2 separate regions of the Homo sapiens genome follow, and region 1 is linked to region 2. Evidence: promoter capture Hi-C in human tissues and cell types (Jung and others, 2019). All regions are on one chromosome and are shown on one strand. Each heading gives the region's core, a stretch centred on a gene start or on the middle of the fragment in contact. The rest is flanking DNA. Distances are from core to core; before and after follow the strand shown. Region 1 holds the start of DNAH10OS (dynein axonemal heavy chain 10 opposite strand). Region 2 holds the start of TCTN2 (tectonic family member 2).

The links. Contacts are between HindIII fragments. The study calls those that stand out against the background at their distance.
Region 1: the fragment with the promoter of DNAH10OS here is called in contact with the fragment with the promoter of TCTN2 in region 2 in 1 of the 25 tissues and cell types used here (mesenchymal stem cells).

What each region holds. Positions count from the first base shown.
Region 1 is chr12:123,933,679-123,938,338 of GRCh38, forward strand. DNAH10OS (dynein axonemal heavy chain 10 opposite strand) reads right to left here and starts at 1,306. Exons shown (of 2, transcript NR_187476.1): 1 at 387-1,306. It overlaps DNAH10 (dynein axonemal heavy chain 10), which reads left to right. Exons shown (of 79, transcript NM_001372106.1): 78 at 943-1,088; 79 at 1,657-2,036. The coding sequence ends at 1,803. It overlaps CCDC92 (coiled-coil domain containing 92), which reads right to left. Exons shown (of 5, transcript NM_025140.3): 5 at 1,948-4,152. The coding sequence ends at 3,380. RefSeq lists an enhancer at 4,371-4,660. The HindIII fragment of the contact is 2,982 bases long and covers 262-3,243 here.
Region 2 is chr12:123,668,152-123,672,404 of GRCh38, forward strand. It overlaps TCTN2 (tectonic family member 2), which reads left to right and starts at 2,962. Exons shown (of 18, transcript NM_024809.5): 1 at 2,962-3,171; 2 at 3,356-3,463; 3 at 3,905-3,981. The coding sequence starts at 3,090. The HindIII fragment of the contact is 13,736 bases long and covers 1-4,253 here.

The DNA of each region.
Region 1 (4,660 bases), core at 56-2,555, 260 kb after region 2:
ACACCTCTGAGGGTGGATACGGAAGTTTCTCTTCCACTTTCTCCGTTGAGACCTGGGGTCTATGGCAGGGGAGACCTGAACCATGTTCACTCTGCTAGCTCATGGCAAGTGGGCTCCTAGGTCAGAATTAGCTCTTGCAAAAACCATCAGGTGGCTTTCTTGTAACCCCTGACGGGGCCAGGGGCATGGGAGCCACAGAGCAGCATGGACTAACTTGGTTGGAACTCTTTGATTATGCCAGAACTTCAGGTCCCTTAGACATTGGTTACTGACTGTGCAAATGAGAGCTGGAAACTGCTGTTTCCCCGGGTCCATGTTGTCTTAGAGTTCTTTTAACTGCAAGGAACAAAAGCTCTTTTGAGATGGCTTAAGGACTGGGGACTTACGGTAAAGATGCAGGGACTCTCCAGGTCTCAGTGGCAGGGGAGGTGGCAGGTGTCCGGGCCACCACTCTCTCTGGGGCCACAGGAGTGTGTTCCTCTCTTTGCACATCTGCTGGGTCCTCCTCCCCGGAGACCACTTTCTCTGTGAGGCTTCGACTTCCTGCTCCCCAGCCACTTCGGCTCACAGGGTAGCTGGGGTTGCCATGGTGCCCATTCTGACTCTGGGACCATGCATCTTTCTAGCCTGGGGGCCCAGGGTGGTCTAAGTCCGTGGGCCTTGATGCCCCAGGAATGAGGATTCCTGGGGGAGAGGCCACCGCCCCACACCCATTTCTCTGGGCCATGGGGCAGGGCCACAGGGTCTCCTGTCTGGGCTGCTCCTCCACAGAGGGAAGGTGGGCAGGACAGAAATGCTGGAGAAGGGCCTGGGCTGTCCCCAATGCGCTGGGGAGGAGGCCAGCCAGTGGCCTGTGTGTCGCTGTGTGTGCGCCTGATAGAGCCACTCCGTGGCAGGCTGTGCATGCTCCAGTTGTATCCAGTCTCTGCCTTGTGTCCCTAGGATGCTTTGTCTCAGGACTGTACCTGGAAGGTGCTGACTGGGATATAGAAAAAGGATGTCTTATCAAGAGCAAACCCAAGGTGCTGGTTGTGGACCTGCCGATCCTGAAGATCATCCCCATTGAAGCCCATCGCCTCAAGCTGCAGGTGAAGGTCCCAGCCCCTCCTCTCTGACACCAGGGCCCTTCCTCTTCTGACTGTAGTTATGGCTGAGGTGGTTTCCAACAGTCCTACTTTTTAAAACAGGGGTGCCTAAGCTTTATGGGCTGGGGAGAGTCTTGGAGCCGTGATAAAAGCTACGGATAGCTGCTTCCTGGAAAAGGCGCGGCTGTATGTGTGTGTGGATGCCGGTCCTTCCAGAGGTGTCAGGCTCAAGCTGTGATCCTGTGGTCTAGACTAACCAAGGGGAGACTCCCTCCCTTCTTGCAAAATGCTGCAGACATTGCCTGAGTCATAAAGTGGTTCCCGCTGGTGTGGACAGCAGATGTCTTCTGCTCTGCCTGGGCCAGGACCCACTTTTAACCAGGGTGTCAGTGTGAAGCCAGGTCCCCGTGAAGCTGGCGGAGGGTGGCCCTGAGCAGCCCCAGCCTTGTGCGTGTTCTCAGGTGCAGTCTTGCACAGGGGCCCCTGCCTGTCAAGACTTACACTGCACCTCTGCCTTTATCCCTCTGCACCCTCTCTCCGTGGGGGCATCTCACCTGCCTTTCCCTTGCAGAATACTTTCCGGACCCCCGTCTACACCACCTCCATGAGAAGGAACGCCATGGGAGTCGGCTTGGTTTTTGAAGCTGATCTCTTTACCACGAGGCACATTTCTCACTGGGTGCTGCAAGGAGTATGCCTCACCCTGAATTCTGATTAACCTTTGGGTGAAGAAAACTGCTTAATGAATTCGGAGCCTGGGGTTGTCAGAGTGATCGGGTCTGCTGTCATTTCTTGGGGCCTCTCAAGAGGCAGGAGGGGGACTGACACTGATTTTTCATTTGAAATCAGCCACTTAAATCTCTTTCCATACAAATTAACCTGAATGGTTTTGTTTTTAATACTACTTTTTAAAAGGAATTTATATAATCAAAAAGTAAATATTGGAGAGTATTTTAAGATGTGTGGAGTTTTCTTTTCCTTCTCAGAGAAAACACTTGATTAGGCAAAAGTGCCTGGCATACATAGCATTGGCACAAGTGAGAATCCTAATGTAATTTCCAAAGGTGTGTTTTCGATGATCCAGGTCTGTTTCAGCAGATGCTCCTTTTTGGCAAGAAGGGCTGATGATGTCGGGCACAGAGCAGAAGTGACCAGTCACCTGGAGCCACTTCTCCCCCTTCCAGAACTCTCTGGCCCTAGCTTCTTTGGCTCTGACCTGCTACGGCGACTGTGAAGTTGTTGAGCTTAGTGTTTAGTTCCTGCATGAGCTTCTACCCCCAGCCTGCCTGGGTCTGTGTGGGGTCAGGTAAGGACACAGAACCTCCAGGACCAGTGGTCACTGGGCACCCCTTCCCTCTGTGCACCATGAGGCTGGCCTGGAGCCCTGGCTGGCCACCTGGAGGTGAGGGGTGGCTTCACTCCATGAGGGAGGAGAGGGGCTAGCACGGGCAGCACAGTGGGCAGGGGCCATCAGAGGCAAAAGCAGCTTCCCACAGAAGCTCAGGAGCGCAGCACATTCTAAGGACTAGCTCTGGGCCGGGAGGAGGCCGGAGTCGCTTCTGGGACCTGTGATTGCTCTCCCTCCTGCAGTCTCCTAGCCCTCCTTCAGGTGTTTGTTTAATAAAAGACACAAAACAGAAGGAAGGCAGGTTTAGAAAATAAAGTTTGTTGGGATCTTAAACATTTTGGATAAAACTAACAAAAAAATATGAACACACATTCAGGTTGTGGTGCTATGAGGAGTAGCGTCATCTTATTTAGTTCCTTGAGATACACGCACGGCTGCTCGGTGATCGGTGCCGCCCTGGGAAAGGTTGGTCAGGAGGTGACAGGGGTCTCCAGGAGGAGCTCGGGAGGTGACAAGGGTCTCCAGGAGGGAGCAGGGGCTGCTCGGCCAGGCTGCCCTGGAGCTTGAGGATAAGGTCAAGGTTGGTATGTGTTGCTCCGACTTGAGAATGAATTAGGTGTGTGACTGTGTGGCATCGTGAACATCAGTAGTGACGCAGCCGTGGCCTGGGCTTTGCCTGCAGCGCACTTAGGTTACACGGAGCGGGATCAGAAGCAAGCGATTCGGCACACAGGCGTTTGGCCACAGCAATTAGGAAATACATATTCTGCGGCAGGGACACGATCATATTTTGGTGTGAAGAAGAGGGCAAGAGAAGCAGAAGGAGAATGGGTCGGTAGGTGTGAAAAGTGTTTGGCATGCATGGGATTAAACAGAAAAGGTGTGGCTGAGATTTCCCAGTGGTGCTCACAGTGCATGGACAGCGCGGGGTGGGGCACGGCGGGCTTCACACAGTTCTGTCCGTCCCTGAGTGCTTCCTCACCACCTTGCCTCCGTTCACCTGGTCGACCGCCAGGGTCTTCACCTCGGGCTGGGCCTGCGGCGGGGTGGCGTGGTGGATCCGATGTGCCACCCCGACGTGGGCCTTGTGCGGCTTTTCGCGGGCCGGGCTGTGCTGCTCGCCGCTTCGGTCGGAGGCGATGGGGGGGATGACGAGGGGCCTCTCTTTGATGAGGTGGACCTCGGCGGACTCCCTAGCCAGCAGAAATGGGGTGGGGTCGGGCATAGCATCCACTGGTTCCCGCAAAAGGAGTTTCCTGCTCTCTGCCCCGAATCTGTAGACCTCTTCAAATTCCGGGTGCAAGGGGGCTGAGAGGCTCTTTTTCATGCGGCGGCGAGGCGTTTCGGGTAGCTTGTCTTTGGGGGGCGCTGGCTTGTAGCTGGCCAGCACGGGGCTCCCTGACGGGCTGGCATCTGAGGTCCCGCTGGAGCTCATGAGCTTCTTCTTGGCGGCGTGCAGCTGGGAGGTCAGGTAGGCGATGGTGCTGGCCCGCTGCTCCAGCTCGCTAGACAGCAGGGTCAGCTTGTGACTCTTGGCCTTCAGCTCCTCCAGGTACTTCTTCTCTCGCTCCTTGATGGTGTTCTCCAGCACTGTGATCATCGCGTTTTTCTGCTCCAGTTCTTTCAACAACTCAGCATTTTCGTTCTCTTTCACTTTCAGTTGGGCTTCCAGCTCTTCACATCTTTTCTTTAATTCACTGCTTTTAGAAGTCCCGTCTCCTACAAGAATAAGCCGAGGAAGCAGGTGAAGAACTCATTAGACTGAGGCCGAGTGGTGAGGCCTATGGGGCAGGCGGACCTGTCTGGTGGGGGCCCTGTCTAGGCTGTGGGGGCCATGCAGAAGGCAGGGCTGTGGGGGCTCTGGAAAGACCCCTCCCCTCCCCGAGGTGGGGAGATCGGGGCATCTCAGAGGCCCTTTCCGGCTCTTAGTTCTCTGGCCTACTGCATAAAAGAATGTCTCTGAACCTTAAAGATGCTGAACTTAAAACAGGCAATTGCAGAGTATCAGACCTCAGCAAACACTTAGGATTCAACTGGCCGCAAATCCCTCTGTCTGCTCAGATGGCATTTATGGAATGCCTGCTACATTCAAAGTACTGTTTTGAAACTCAAATGTAAAAAGAATTATCCATGTCTATTGAATTAAAATTCTGATGTTTAGAGGAGAAGAGGTGTGGGGCTGTCACCTTTGCTCTGCCGCTGGCCGCCTCTCTCACCCCCCTACCCC
Region 2 (4,253 bases), core at 1,712-4,211:
AGATTCAAGTGCCCCGTCCGACCCTTCACTGGGGGTTTCTATACATTAGCATGGTTCTGAGGTTTGTGCCCTCCCTTGATTTTTCCTTGGGGTGGGCTGTCTGCATGTCAGTGGCCTGCCAGCACTTGGGAGGGGCCGCATGTGCAGTGTGTTTACTGAAGTTGTGCGCATGCTCATTTGAGGCATTTTCCTTTACCAGTCGAGCCTTCCCAGAGGAAGGTTATATACCAGTTAAAATCTGCCATCTTGCCTCTTACTATGTATGCATGAGCCTGCTTGCCCAACTCCTGAGATCTTATCGGGAAGCTGCTGATCACCAGCTTCAAGTGTTTTCTATCTTTTTTTTTGAGATGAAGTCTCACTCTGTTGCCCAGGCTGGAGTGCAGTAGCGCGATCTCGGCTCACTGCAACATCCGACCCCTGGGTTCAAGCGATTCTCCTGCCTCAGCCTCCCGAGTAGCTGGGAGTACGGGCATGCGCCACCACGCCCAGATAATTTTTGTATTTTTGGGTAGAGATGGGTTTCTCTGTGTTGCCCAGGTTGGTCTTGAACTCCTGGCCTCAAGTGATCCATGTGCCTTTGCCACCCAAAGTGCAGGGATTACAGGCATAAGCCACCAAGCCCGGCCCAGAAATGTTTTCTTTTGGGAGGATTTATCTCTTAATCTTTACCGCTTGGCCTTGCCAACTTAATTTGCAGATTAATTCCCCCCAAAGACAGATGGGGAATAACAGAAATATTTAAGTGTTTGACAGCTTCCTCTTAGTAACGTTCTCCTAGGCTTCATTCCAAGATATCAAGAGAGGTAAACATTTTGCAGTCTTCCAGAGAGGAGCTGAGGTACACGGGAAAAGTTTCATGCTCATGTTACAACTGTAGTGACCCACAGTTTTTCAGGGAGTATAAGAAAAAGATAACACCCAGTGTCAGGCCCTTATAAAGCCTCAACTTTCAGAATCCTTTCACAATGTTAGATTTGCTGATCAATGAATATATAACTGAACATTAAGAGTAATAATGGGGCTGGGTACGGTGGCCCATACCTGTAATCCCAGCACTTTTAGAGGCCAAGGCAGGAGGATCACTTGAGCCCAGGAGTTTGAGACCAGCCTGGGCCACATGGTGAAACCCCGTCTCTATAAAAAATACAAAAATTAGCCGGGTGTGGTGGTGTATTGCCAGTTACTTGGGAGGCTGAGGTGGGAGGATCAGCTGAGCCCAGAAGTTTGAGGATGCAGTGAGCTATGATTGTGCCACTGCACCATTCCAGCCTGGGTGACAGAGTGAGACCCTGTCTCAAAAAGAAAAAAAAAAAAGACTAATAATGGCAAACATTTACTTGGCATTTACCGTCAGTCAGCCACAATGCTGAACACCATGATTGTCTCAGCTAAAGGATACACCACCTCTCTGATAGTTAACAAGTAACTGATCATTAACTGAGTGCTTACTGTATGCCAGCCATTGGTTTAACCTCATTAGATATGTTACCTCATTTCATCCTCACACAATCCCCAAGGAAGGATTATTATCATCCCTTTTTTATAGATGAGGAAGCTGAAACTTAGAGAGGTTGACTTGCCCAAAGTCACTTAACAGCTGAGAATATCTGTGGAGGGAAGGCGAAATCCCATGCCAGGCAGCCTGACCTCAGACCCTGCACTCTCAGTCCCCAAGCCGTGACAATATTTGAAATGTTCTGAGGCTACTGATATAAGAAAAAACAATTTTTTTCCAGACAGAATTTTGATTCTTTCACATCTGTCCTATTGCTGGGCAAAACCTCTTGTGTGTTCTGTGATTGGATCTGCTTTCAGAGTGCTGAGAGCTCTGTGCAGGGGAGAAAATCCTTCAAAAACCTAGGAGAATGATAATAAAAGCAATAGTGATAATAAATGATAATGATAAGAATTATAAAAATATAAATTTTATAAAATTATAACATATAAGTATAAAATTTACAAAATATATACTTATATAAAAGATAAATATATATAAGATAAAATATAAATACATATATATTTTATAAGATAAATAAATAAATAAATATATTTTTGAGACGGAGTCTGGCTCTGTCGCCCAGGTTTGAGTGCAGTGGTGCAATCGCGGCTCACTGCAACCTCCGCCTCCCAGATTCATACAATTCTCCTGCCTCAGCCTCCTGAGTAGCTGGGATAATAGGCGCCTGCCACCACGCCTGGCTAATTTTTTGTATTTTTAGTAGAGACGGGGTTTCACCATGTTGATCAGGCTGGTCTCAGACTCCTGACATTGTGATCCGCCCGCCTCGGCCTCCCAAATTGCTGGGATTACAGGCATGAGCCGCCAGACCCGGCCTATATGTATTTTATATATATCAAGTATGTATATCTGATATATATATATAAAACAAAGTATATCTATTTTGTAAATATATATTTATTTTATAAAAATATAAAATATAAATAATACATCATAAACGATAGTAAAGATAATAAACACAGCGCGGCAGCCCCATCCCCTTTTTCTACTCACCCCTAAAACAAATCCGTATAAAAATCAAGTTTATTAAGGAGCAAGTCCCACCCTTTTTATTTAGAAGCCAGTGTCTATAGGATCGCTCTTGGCTATTGTTGGATTAATTCCAGGGTAGGGGAAAACTCCAGTTTTTGAGCCGGACACGCACTCCTGCTTTTCAGGACCTTTTTAATTTTGATGTTTTCAACTTTTAGGCCCAGGGGTCCATGTACAGGTTGCTATATAGGTAAATTGCGTGTCACGGGGGTTGGGTGCACAGATTGTTTCGTCACCCAGGTACTAAGTGGAGCACCGGATAGGTAGTTTTTCAGCCCTCACTCTCCCCACCAGAGTCAAGCAGCAAAAATGCTAGGCCTTGTGGGCGGGGCCGGGGTGCCCGCTCTTGCCACTGGTCCAATCACAGCGCGGCGTTCCTCCTGGCCGGCCGCCGATTGGTGGTTGCCATAGCTCCGGGCGTTCGCTTGCAAGATGGCGGCGGCGGGGCAGTGGCTGCTGCGTTTTCGTGTCTGAGTCCTTCCTGGGTTCTAATGAGGGCGCGGTTCTGCTGTGCCCGGCCCGCGAGGTCTAAGGCATGGGCTTCCAGCCTCCGGCCGCTCTTCTTTTGAGGCTTTTCCTTCTGCAGGGCATCCTGAGGCTTCTGTGGGGGGACCTGGGTGTGTACGGCGCGGCAGTGACCTCGGTGGGCCGGGGCTGAGGGGACTGGGCGTTAAAAGGGCCAGACTTGGACTCCCCCGGGAGCTTCGGGAGTCGACAACGCCAAAGCAAGCCGCCACACACACCTTAGGCGGTGATTCTTCCACTGCTAACCCCTCCTTGTCCCCTTTCCTTCCCGCCTAGCTTTCATCCCTCCTTTTATCCGAATGTCCGGCCCTGCGGTCAGCGCGTCCCTGGTCGGAGACACCGAGGGTGTGACCGTGTCCCTGGCAGTGCTGCAGGACGAGGCGGGTAAAGTCCGGCCCTCTTTTGGGGAGGGTGGGGGTTGGACTGGATCCAGACCTCCCAAGGAGCCTGGAGAGGTGGCATCCTTGGGGCCCCCTGCCTCTGTTCTCTGCAAAGTCGCATGGGGAGAAAAGGATCGGGCGGCTGCTGTAGGCCAAAGAGGACAGACGGACAGGTTCGAAGAAAGCCTGAAATAATAATGGTTAGCATTCATTGAGCTAACATCGTGCATCATCCCATTTTCCTAGTAAGAACAGTAATATCTTTTCATCCCCTTTGACCAAGGAAGAAACAAGTTCAGAGAGGTTGTCACTGTCCCAGTGTCAAGCAGCTTGTAAAGGGCCCAATCTTAGGCTGTAATGTGAGTCCATCCTAGGCAGTCTGACTCAATGCACCCCCTGAGCTGCTGGACCTTGCTGCCTTTGCATGCTGGTCTTCTTTCTTTAGGAATATTGCCAATTCCGACGTGTGGAGTGCTGAACAATGAGACGGAAGACTGGAGCGTGACTGTGATCCCCGGTGCGGTAAGGCCAGAAGTAAACCTTCTCTGTAGCCTGTGAAGAGGCCCCCAGCTAGGGTTTCTGCAGTGCTCTCTTTATTTAACAAGGCATGGCTTTCTCCATGCTCTCAACAATCATGAAATTGTGGGCTGTTGGATCTGGTAGACACTTATCCAGCCCACGGGTTCCTTACCCTGGGGTTAGGAGTCCTTGGATGTATTTCAGTGGGTCTGTGAACTCTATGAAATTGTATGTAAAGTTCTGTGTGTATGTGCATTTTTCTGATGAGAGGGTCA